Regions from separate parts of the Homo sapiens genome. Here region 2 is linked to region 1. The links are contacts of gene promoters, found by promoter capture Hi-C in blood cells and fetal thymus (Javierre and others, 2016). All regions are on one chromosome and are shown on one strand. Each heading gives the region's core, a stretch centred on a gene start or on the middle of the fragment in contact. The rest is flanking DNA. Distances are from core to core; before and after follow the strand shown. Region 1 holds the start of HOMER2 (homer scaffold protein 2). Region 2 overlaps TM6SF1 (transmembrane 6 superfamily member 1).

Evidence for each region. Contacts are between HindIII fragments. The CHiCAGO score rates a contact against its expected background, and 5 or more counts as called.
Region 2: a fragment that was not itself captured here is called in contact with the fragment with the promoter of HOMER2 in region 1 in 1 of 17 cell types (neutrophils); the score reaches 5.5 in neutrophils.

What each region holds. Positions count from the first base shown.
Region 1 is chr15:82,949,339-82,954,922 of GRCh38, reverse strand. HOMER2 (homer scaffold protein 2) reads left to right here and starts at 2,203. Exons shown (of 9, transcript NM_004839.4): 1 at 2,203-2,392. The coding sequence starts at 2,388. RefSeq lists an enhancer at 2,453-2,953. The HindIII fragment of the contact is 1,453 bases long and covers 1,565-3,017 here.
Region 2 is chr15:83,114,607-83,120,190 of GRCh38, reverse strand. It overlaps TM6SF1 (transmembrane 6 superfamily member 1), which reads right to left. Exons shown (of 10, transcript NM_023003.5): 3 at 4,249-4,346; 4 at 510-613. It also overlaps a transcript of HDGFL3 not described here. Among named protein-coding and RNA genes, the nearest start is that of TM6SF1, 9.8 kb to the right of the region's middle. The HindIII fragment of the contact is 2,839 bases long and covers 1,568-4,406 here.

The sequences.
Region 1 (5,584 bases), core at 954-3,453:
CCTGTAGTCCCAGCTACTTGGGAGGCTGAGGCAGGAGAATCGCTTGAACCTGGGAGGCGGAGGTTGTGGTGCCCTGAGATCATGCCACTGCACTCCAGCCTGGTGACAGAGCAACACTCTGTCTCAACAACAACAACAACAAAACAGAATGATGTCTGAATGCCTGCCTGGCAAGTGAGAGGATAAACATTGTTTTATATAACTTTTTGTTTCTATTTTATATCGATATACCTATAGACATAGTATGTATGTGCTGAAGTATGTACCAGGTTGCAGGTTGTAGTGTAAAATATATTTCTTACTGTGGATTGTAGTTTAAAAAAATGAAAAACTCGGCCAGGCACGGTGGCTCATGCCTGTAGTCCCAGCCCTTTGGGAGGCCGAGGCGGGTGGATCACGAGGTCAGGAGATCGAAACATGGTGAAACCCTGTCTCTACTAAAAATACAAAAAAAAAAAAAAACTGGGCGTGGTGGCATGCGCCTGCAGTCGCAGCTACTGGGGAGGCTGAGGCAGTAGAATCGCTTGAATCTGGGAGGTGGGGGTTGCAGTGAGCCGAGATCACGCCACTGCCACTGCACTCTAGCCTGGGTGAGCAGAGTGAGACTCCGTCTCAAAAAAAAAATAATAAAAATAAAATAAAAATGAAAAACTCTGATTTCAGTGGCTTGCCTTTGAAGTTATTCGAACACTTCAGAATCCTCAGGTATTACCTGATAAATGACTTGTTCAGTGTTCTACAAGCTCACTTTCCTGATATTGCTGATTACTATGCATGGAGGATTTGGAAACTCCCAAGATTATTTTATTTTTTACAAACTTATTTTGTATTTATTTATTTATTTTTTTGAGACAGTCTGGCTCTTTTCACCAGGCTAGAGTGCAGTGGCATGATCTCGGCTCGCTGCAACCCCTGCCTCCTGGGTTCAAGCGATTCTCCTGCATCAAGCCTCCCGAGTAGCTGGGAGTAGCTGGGACTACAGGAGCACGCCACCACACCCGGCTATTTATGTATTTAATTAATTAATTTATTTATTTTTTGAGACGGAGTCTCGCTCTGTTGCCCAGGCTGGAGTGCAGTGGTGCGATCTCGGCTCACTACAAGATCCGCCTTCCAGGTTCACGCGATTCTTGTGCGTCAGCCTCCGGAGTAGCTGGGACTACAGGCGCCTGTCTCCACGCCCGGCTAATTTTTTTTGTGTGTGTGTATTTTTAGTAGAGACGGGGTTTCACCGTGTTAGCCAGGATGGCCTCGATCTCCAGACCTCGTGATTCGCCCGCCTCGGCCTCCCAAAGTGCTGGGATTACAGGCGTGAGCCACCGCGCCCGACCTGTCCCTTGACTTTTTTACTGTCCTGAGATGCCAGGCTTATGTGGGCGGTGTGTTCCCAGCAGAAGATGATCCCGTGGAAGTCCCGGGGGATGAAGGTTAGGTTAGTCCCAGTGCCAGCCTTTGGTAGAAACTCAGGACCTGATAGGTAGAAAGGCGACGAAGAGAGCCTGCTCTTCTTCAAGTTCTACTTTTGCCATCCTAATTCCCCTCGCTCTAAGGATAAAACCAAGCTTGATGAAGCCGCCTTAAAACTGCCCCTTCAAGTGGGAGCCCTCATCTCATTTTTATCCAGGAAAGAGCCCAGAGCATCTGCCGCGGCCTGTAGGCTCTTCTCTGCCAGGCTGGCTTCCGAAATTTCACGGTGGCGGGTACCTTAAGGCCACTCGGCCGGGCAACTGGCAGGAAGATGAAGGTGGGCTTTAAGGAGGAGCACAGCTATGCCCATCTCAGACTCTGGAGACCCGAACGAACTCTAATCTGAATGTGTGACCTTGGGCAAATCACTTACCCTCCCCAGGCCTCGGTTCCCTTATCTGCAAAGTAAAGGTAGCCCTAAAGTCCCCGCCAGGTGTGAATGGGACTTTAAGTCCATCAGGCAGGATGTTGATGGCACTGCGCCAGGGCCCCGGGTCGGCGTGGGGCGGGGGCGCGCCAACGCGGGGCCGGCACCGAGGACTGGGTGGCCCGGGAGAAAAGCGGCGACTGCGCGGCTGCGCGGGGGACGGTGCACACAGTGCTGCGCCCCCCGCCTCTTGGCTCGCTGCCGCGGCCCGGGGGCCACGAGGTTACGTAAGGAGCCGGGCGGGGGTAGCGGCTGGGGAGGGCGGGGCGGGCACCGCCCCAGCGCGGCCGCCCAGCCCCCGCCCGCCCGCGCCTGGCGGCGGTGGCGGCAGTGGCAGCAGTGGCAGCCGCGCAGCCCCGCGGAATGGAGCGGCGCCGGGGCTGAGCCGGGCGCGCACGGGCCGCCGCATGTGCCGCGCGGGGAGCGGCTGCCGAGCGGGCGGAGAGCGAGCGCGAGAGGCCCCGTCGGAGCGGCCGCCGGAGCAGCGCCGGAGATGGGGTGAGTGAGCCCGCGCCGCGCGCTCTCCGCGCGCCCCTCCGGAGGGACTGCGGGGCCGCGGCTGGCGTAACCGGGCTCGGAGCCTCCCGGCGGGCCGGCCCCCGCCTCCCCAAGCCGGAGCGAGCGCACACTCTGCGCCCGGGAGTCTGGGGCCACCTGACCCGCGCCCTCCGCCGGGGCACGCGGACACCCAGCAGGGGCACCCTGGCCTGGGCGCGGAGCCCGTGGCCCTTCCCCTCCCATACAGCCCGGGCACGGGGGCACCTGACGGGGACCGGTGCCCTGGCCGGCCTCCTGCCTCGGCCATTCCGCGGTCTCTTCGCCCCTGGGCGCAGTCAACTCCAGGGCCTGTGTGAGTCTAAGCAGTTTGTCGTTCTCCACGTTTGGATTTATTACAAGCAAAATGGAAATCGAAGTTTTCCTGGAAATAATCAAATAATAATAAACCTCCAGCGTAGGAATAGTGGACTTTGGATCTGCTTTGAGATGCTGAAGATGATGGAAGTCTATAAGGAACCTAGGTGAGGCTTCAGTCTTTGAAACAACTGAGTAGATGCTCAGGAGGGAAGTTGAAATACTCTGTCGAAGTGACTAATGCTTCTGAGTATATAAAGTAATTTAAGCTTTCCCCTCGGCGTCTCTCTGAGCAGTAGGCTCTGTGAGTCTGGGAGCCACTGTGCTAATAGCACAATAACTCCTTACATCTGCTCACTCTATTTGGGCACACGTTGACGGTTTGCCATACGTATTCAGGGGACACTTATGTCCACTTTACAGATGAGGAAACTGAGGCACAAAGTGGTTCGGTGACTTCCCCCAGGCTGTGTAGTTGATGAGCATTTGTGTAGCAGGGGTGGCCTTGCCACTGCCTGACGTGGGCATGGAGGCGGGTAAGTGAACCAGAATTCCTAAATCTCTCTGTTCCCTGCTGCTGAACCCAGCATTCTTCCAACAGCCCTTCGCAGGACTCAAATGCTTCTGCTCCAAGGGTCTAGAGATCTTGCTTTCCTGTTTGGGATGGGTGGGGCCTGGGAAGGCAAGAGTGCAGTGGAAGGAGCAAGATTGTCCTGGTGCCCTGGCTCAGCCCCCCTGGGTCAGTGGCTTTCTTGCACCGTACTCCAGGTTAAGTTTCTGGAGTCATTTTGCCTGGTGAGTCTTAGCCATGGGAGCTGCAGAGTGTGTGAGGGGATCAGAGGCAGGCCAAGAGGAATTTTGAGGAATGGAAGTGTGAGGGCTGTGGGCCAACATGAACTGGACATGACAGAGGTGGGTGACAGAGAGGAGGAGGCGAGATGAGCAGCGAGGGCTGAAGAAGTGTGCTTACATTTAGGAGATTTCACATGAACAGCAACTGTGGGTGATTTTACCCAGAGGCACCCAAGTTGGCAGGCCGTATTTCTGTAACATTTCCAGTGAGTCCTCAGTGGACTGTGAAAAGGCTGATCTTTGAGCAGTGAGAGCCTTTGAGGTTCTCAGATTTCATACTTTAAAAAAATGTACAGGGAAAAAGGAGTTGGCAAATGTAAGGTCTCAGAATGGAAGATAAAAGGGATCCGGTAATTTTAACTCTCTTTCTGGCCCTCCCTCCCCCTGGCCAACACAAAACCAATCCACCGTACTTGTGTGATCAAAAACAAGTACTGAAACTCTGTGGTTGAGATCAAATAGTTCTGTGGAAATGAAAATGTTTACTCACTCATAAAACCTTAAAGAAAATGTCAAAAAATAATTTTTGTTTGTGGAGAAGCAGGGAGGAGACGCTTGGGGATTTTGTTTAAACACAGAATATGTCTTTCATGTAATTTTAACATCATTCGATAAATGTATATATTACTCACTTCTCGTAGATAAAGGCTGGTTTGTAACTCCTACCTACCTCTGCCATTTTTAATAGATCCATGTCTTCTATTATTTATGTGAAAATACAAGCCATGGTCGTAAATTGAGATGCAGCTAAGGGCTGGGGAAGCAATTCAGACAGGAGGGTGGAGGGAGCCGTTTTAACTGAAAATAGAACCAATGTCATCCTTTCTGAGAGTTGTGTAGGATGGAGGGGGAAGAACTTTTTGAAAGGGCAGCTAGTAGAAAACCTTGCTGCGATCCTACAGCTTCGTCATGGCTCTGCTGTGTAGACAGGACTAGGATTTAAGGGAAAAAAAAACAAACTATCTGAGTTTACCTCCCCCCAACTTGAGATGCTTCTCCTCCCTCAAATGTTCACTACCATTTTCCACTTCTCTTCTGCGAAGTGTTCTGTGTTAAGTGTGGCCTCTCCAGTGAGTTTGTGTTCTTACTCCCTAAGGCAACTATTTCATACCTATTCCCCTTTCCAGACCTCTCCCCTTCCTAGGCACACCCCGTGGCTTCCCTTTCAATTGACAAGATAGGCACCTTTGACCAAGGGAATGTCTTCATTTTGCCACCACCTAGTCTAGTATGCAGCTGCTGCTACCTTCTCCTACCTGCCTGCTGTGCTGGATGACCTGTCCCTCATCTCTTCCTACTAGGGGCCCCTTCTTCTGGGGTAGCCTCCATTCCATCCCTTCCTCCTCCCATCTTTTCAGAGATTGTCTCTCCTTCCTAACCACCTTTCTCTCCGGGGTCTTCTCCATCAGTATAGGAGCATACATCTGACCAACAGAACTTTCTGCACTGCTGGAAATGTTCTGTATCTGCGTGGCAGCCACCAGCACATGTGGTTATTGGACACTTGAAATGTGGTTGTTGAGACTGAGGACCTGAATTTTTAACTTAATCTAAATTTAAATAGCCACATGTAGCTAGTGGCCACCATATTGGATAGCATAGCTTTAGTTGCTCTCATCTTAAAAAGGAGATCTCCCTCCCTCCTACATCCCTCTCCTGTTTCACTTCTTTGCTCTTCTTCACCTGAAAACACCTCAGAAGATACATCCAAACCCACTGGCTCCATTCACTTTCTCCTGCCATTTGTTCACTCTCCATACTCTACAGTCTTGCTTCTGCCTCACCTCTGCACCAAAACTGCCAGGGTCTTGGGTGACCAGGGGGTTGCCAGATCTCAGCCTCACCTCACTTCACCTCTCTCAGCAGCATTCCTAACAAATGACCACTCCCTCTCCTCAAAACAACACCCCTCTCAGCTCCTCTGGCCCCACTGTTTCCTGCTTTTCTTCTTACTCCTAATCATGGGGTTGCCCAGGGACTGGTCCT
Region 2 (5,584 bases), core at 1,738-4,237, 160 kb before region 1:
AGACTCGGCTCCTGTTCCTTTAATCCCTTGTACATACACATCCACTGCCAAGGGGCCAGCCGCAGAGTGAGACAGGAGGAGTGAACGGACAAGCCATGTAGCCAAGCCTTAGTGCGAGCCAAGCCGCAGAGCTGTGCCTGATCTGGGGAAGGACAGAAGCTTTGAACCGAAATGAGATTGCTGTTTGGAAATTTTGAAGTTTTGAAATGAAGTTTAAGATGTGCTTAGCTTTAATTGCTGAAAATAAAAATTATTCTTGTAAGACAACATAATCAGAAAGCTTAAAGGGTCTGCCCGAGCTGTCACCATGCTAGGGAGCAATTCAGAAGGACATATTCAAAAGGCAGTGGTACAAGGAGGATAAAGCCACGTCTGACGTGCACCCATGGAACTTATATTCATGTCCAGTATACCTGCTTGTGTATTTGCCTCTATGCATAACGTTTCCTTACATACCCGCTTATCGGTTGCTAAGGTGGCAAAGGCACACACCAGGTGAACTGACTTACTCCCATGCTATGGCTGCCACCATCACCAGGTACATCAGATAATGAGCAGAGCCATCCCAGTAGCAGATCATGTGCCCATATGCGGTGTTCAGATACGGTTCACCCTAAAGAAAGCATTAAAAAGAAGTCCACTTTAAATAAGACCTGTAAATGCAGAACATCAGACCTGTATTGCAAGTAAAATAAAACAGCAGAACTAACTTGTGTTCATCTGCTAAGATGAAACTATTTCTTCAAAATTGGTAGGAACATGAAAATACAACTTTACGCTGGAGCTGCCAAAACCAGGGTCTGGCCACAGAGGATGGAATTAGAGAATGCCTGGCCAATTGGCCCATGATGCATCAACATAGGTTTGTACTGTGATGCGAAGGCAGATGGCATGATAGGCAATCCTGGCTGTATGGCAAACTCATGGAGACCAAGCCAAATCTTTGACACAAGGTGCTTGGCAGTGACCAGAGAGGTGGCCAGGGATGACCCTGCTTTCCAGAACCAGTGGCTGGCCTTAATAATTCATGCTGATCCCGTGGCTTGCTGGGCTGGGCATGGCACAACACTCATTCCCCACATACTGACACATAGGCAGGCAGGCACCGAACTCGGAGCTTCACACCCAACCCCTCCTTCTACCTTCCCAACAACCCAGTGGGATGGACAGGATTGAGTCCATTTTACAGATGAGGAAACAGATGCTCTGAGATTACAAGACTTTCCTAAGGTCACGTAGCTAGTATACCTAGCAGAGACCAAGAAGAGCCATACTTCTCCTGGGCAAATGTTAATGTTATGAACACAAGATTATATGACGAACTACATTTCCCTTTTCTAGGTGGTTACATTTCCAGGTGGCTTCTAGAAAATCACTGTCATCAATTTTCCGTGCATTTTTACTGTTGTTTTGGCCCCACCTTGTTTTCCTTTCCTCTTTCTCCCACGTTCATGCTGTCCTGGCTTGTTTCACGCTGTAAGATGCCTTAAGTCCTTTCTACAACAAGGAAGAGTGCAGATCAACCAGCCCATCAATCAGCCAAGCAAGCAGGGCTTTCTCTTAAGCTTCATGCTCCCCTGGGGCAAGGACTGCTCTGTCATCTCTCCCACAGATCAAATCAAATTAAAATCAGAGAAGCAGGAAACAGAATCAAGGTTCTGCTTCTACACCCATGCCAGGCCCACGTCCCTTCTCTTGGACTTGCTCTGACTGAAGAATACATCCGATTTATGGTTTCAGACTTCCATTGCTAACACACCTGGCTCTCTGAGCCAGTGCTGGCCTCTCCTGGTAGCTTGATGAGCATCTTTAACTGCATGGTGCACAGGCCACAGGTCCTTTCAACTCGCCTGAACTCTTAATTCATCAGCTTCTCCCCTCAACCAGCCTTCCATCTTGCCTCTCTCTCTCTTGCTCTCTCTGTATGTGTGTGTGTGTGTGTGTGTGTGTGTGTGTGTGTACGTACAGAGACAGGGTCTCACTCTGTCACCCGGTCTAGAGTGCAGTGGTGATCATTGCTCACTGCAGTCTCAACTCCTGGCGTCAAGCGATCCTCCCGCCTTTGTCTTCCAAAGCACTGAGATTACAGGCATGAGCCACCAGGCCAGCCATGGCCTCTCTATATTAATGGTGAAACCATTCGGCTTACCAAGGTCAAAACCACATGGTCATTTTTTCATTCCTCATTCTCCTATGCAGTCTCTCAGCAAATCTATCAACTTTATTGCTACGATGTCACCCCGGCAATTCTCCCTCTTCTTCACAGCATTAGGTCTAGCCCTCAGTGTCCCTCACTGGACCACAGCTATGTTCCCAAATGGTCTCCCTACCTTTGTCCCCTCCTTCCAACCCATGACACTCCTCCTGCCAGATAAAGATTCTCAAGGCCTGGCTCTTGGCATGTTGTTCCTCTACTCTAAAACTCCCCAAAACTTGTCACAGCCTGCTGGACCAAGCCCCATCTCCTCTCTATCACAGCTGGGTCCCCAGAGCCTGGCCCTGCAGACCTTGCCACCACAGTTACACCCCAGTCCCCCTTCTGATACCCCGTCTGCCCCAATGCTTACCACCCTTGCCAACTCAGCCTCCAGCCCTCTCGTCAGCCGCCTCCTTCCTAAAACCTCCCTCCTCTGGGCTCCATGGCCCCCACTCTCCAGGTTTTCCTTCTGCCTCTTGGCCTGCCCCCCATGGTCCACTTCAGGGGCTTCTCTTCTTCTGGCCATGGTCTCTAAAGTCCCAAGCTCAGCCCTTTTCTCTCTCTACCTTCTCATAGGCAAGCCCTTCTCCTCTCAGACATTCAGGTACCAACTGCACTCCGATGGCCCGTGACTCTCTCTTCCAGGACTGCTCCTCAGAGCTCAAGACCTGCAAAGCCCTGCCAGCATCTGAAACTCCACCTCCCCATAGAAACTCAGCCTCATCCTTGCAGATTGGTGCCCCAGGGAGAGGCACATGCTCTTTCTCCTCTCCAAGCCTTTGCCCAAGCTGTCCCTTCTCTCCGGAATTCCCCCTACCTCCCTGGTCCATCTGGAAATGTCCATCTTCCACTGCCATGACCATTTTTAAAATGCTACAGCAGTGTCACCAACTCAATAAGCCTTCCCCGACTGCACCCAGACTTAATTCCTCCTCTGAGTACTTCTGTGCCTGGAGTGAGTCTCTCACTGTGCCTGGGACAATTCCATCTCCCCACCCTTTCAGGCAGGGAGCTCCCAGGGGGCAGGGAGCAGGTCTTCTGACCACAGAGTCCCCTTCAACAAATGTCTGCAGAAATAAATTCCTCCTGTCATCCCTCTCTGGTGTAAAAACAGCAGCATTCTTCCAAATTCCAAAGCAGGAATCAGGACACTGTCTTAGGCCTCATCCTTCCCATCACTCCCAATTTGTCCCCAAGTCTTATTCATTCCAGCCACTCCGATTCTCTAAAGTTCATCCCTCTCTCTACTTCCCATGCGCTGCCTCCATCCAGCCACGTTTATGCCCCTGCTGGTCCCGAGGAAGCCTCCTGACTGGTGCCCCAGCTCATGGCACGGACCCTTCCCTGCAAGCCCATCCTTCCCAGAGCTGCCTGTATTCTTCACTGACTTAAAATCTTCCCTCACAGACAGGATAAAACCCAAACTCCCACAGCGTACATACAAAGCTCCCCATTATCTGAACATGGATGAAGAATCTGCTTTGAGCCCTTTTCCTCATTTCCTGTGTCACCTTGAATAAGTCACTTAACCTCTCTGGGGCTGGGTTCAGCCCACCATAAAATAAGAAAATAGGACTAGCTCTCTCGAGTACCAGGTAGTATCAAAGCTATGATTTGGGCAGCATGGTGGAGAGTGCAAGCCATCACAATCAAATGACTTCATCAAGTGCCTCTGTGTTGGGTACTTTACAAATTTAAGACTGACTTGGGGTTTCTGAGATAGTCATGTATTAACAGACACATAAATACTAAATCCATTTAAGGTACCTTATTTATATTAAATACAGATAAAGGGGAAAAGCAGGTCATGTGTGCGGTCATGAGTGAGAGAAGCCGTGAGAGCTGAATGTTGGAGAGAATTGCCTCTCGTGATCTAACCGTCCTTTCTGCTCCACTTTCCATGTGACTAAGCGACCTAAGGCTATTATAGGAAATGAAAGCCTGCGTAGCGTACCTGTTCACACTAAATGAGAGGATTTCTGTCTCTGAGTAATGTGATCTGGGTTGTGGCCTTTTGGTTGAAACCTCATAATCACTAAGTGATCCCATACCTCTCTCAAGTAGTGTGTCATGAACCCGTCAATGATTCCATCTTGCTCCAGTCCTATGATGAGGTTCACCACGCTGGTAAATCCAAAAACTGCATACACTAGAGCAAAGAAAGCAGCAGTTTAAAAAGCAATAGCTCAGGAGACAATTACTACAAGCTTGGCATCAGCTAATAATAATGGAATGTTTTTCATGTTTTCCAGAAGATGCTGTGGACAATTATCGAGATAGACTAACAGAATACCCCTTCTACACACCCAGCTGGACCTCCACCTGTGTTCGCAGCTCTCCCCATCCCTGCCTAAGTACTCTCATCAAGGGAACACTCATCACAGGAGTGGAGAATGATGGTCACTGCCGGCTCAGTCACAGAAGATTCTAGCAGGCCAACTCCACCCATCCTCCACTCCCCTACAAGTGGCTGCCCAGAATCAAACCCACATCCCACATGGGCAGTGGGAGCAAAGCCAGTAACTGAGTGGCCAAGGAAGCATAGAAGTGACCACTAAGTTTAAGACAATGATTCAGGCTGGGCATGGTGGCTCAAGTCTGTAATCCCAGCACTTTGGGAGGCTGAAGCAGGCAGATCACCTGAGGTCAGGAGTTCAAGACCAGCCTGGCCAACATATTGAAACCCCGTCTCTACTAAAAATACAAAAATTTTCTGGGTGTGGTGGTGCACGCCTGTAATCCCAGCTACTCCAGAGGCTGAGACAAGTGAATTGCTTGAACCCAGGAGGCGGAGGTTGCAGTGAGCCGAGATCACACCACTGCACTCCAGCCTGGGCGACAGAACAAGACTCTGTCTCAAAAAAAAAAAAAGACAATGACTTGACGAAGTGATTCATCTCAATGATTCCCAAGCAGGCCACCTCACAGCGTGTCCAGTGTGGTTACCCTATTCCACATGGCGTATCCTAGAGACAGACAGGTGGCTGATGTGCAAGTGACAATGGCTTTCAGAAAAAAGACTAGTGATGTTAAAAATGAATACAAGAGGGTATAATTGAATATGACAGAAGGAAAGCTATACCTGTCAGAGAATCTTACCAGAGTTGTGAGCATCTCCTAAATGGGCTTAAAACTACTAGCACAAATAACTAAGAAATAATACTTTTTAAACAGCAGGTGATCAAATTTAGTGCATGTTAGTTTGTCAAAGCTGCATTTTCAAGTTGTAACAGATTGGTGCCTTAGACTATGGGATGGACATGGACAGAAGAAAAATCTGATGGTGAATATAAGAAAAGCTGTGAAAAAAGAAATGGAGAGGAGTGTGGGGATGGTTAATTCACAGAGAAGGGAAGCCGGCCTTGCCTGGAGTCAGCAGCCAGGAGT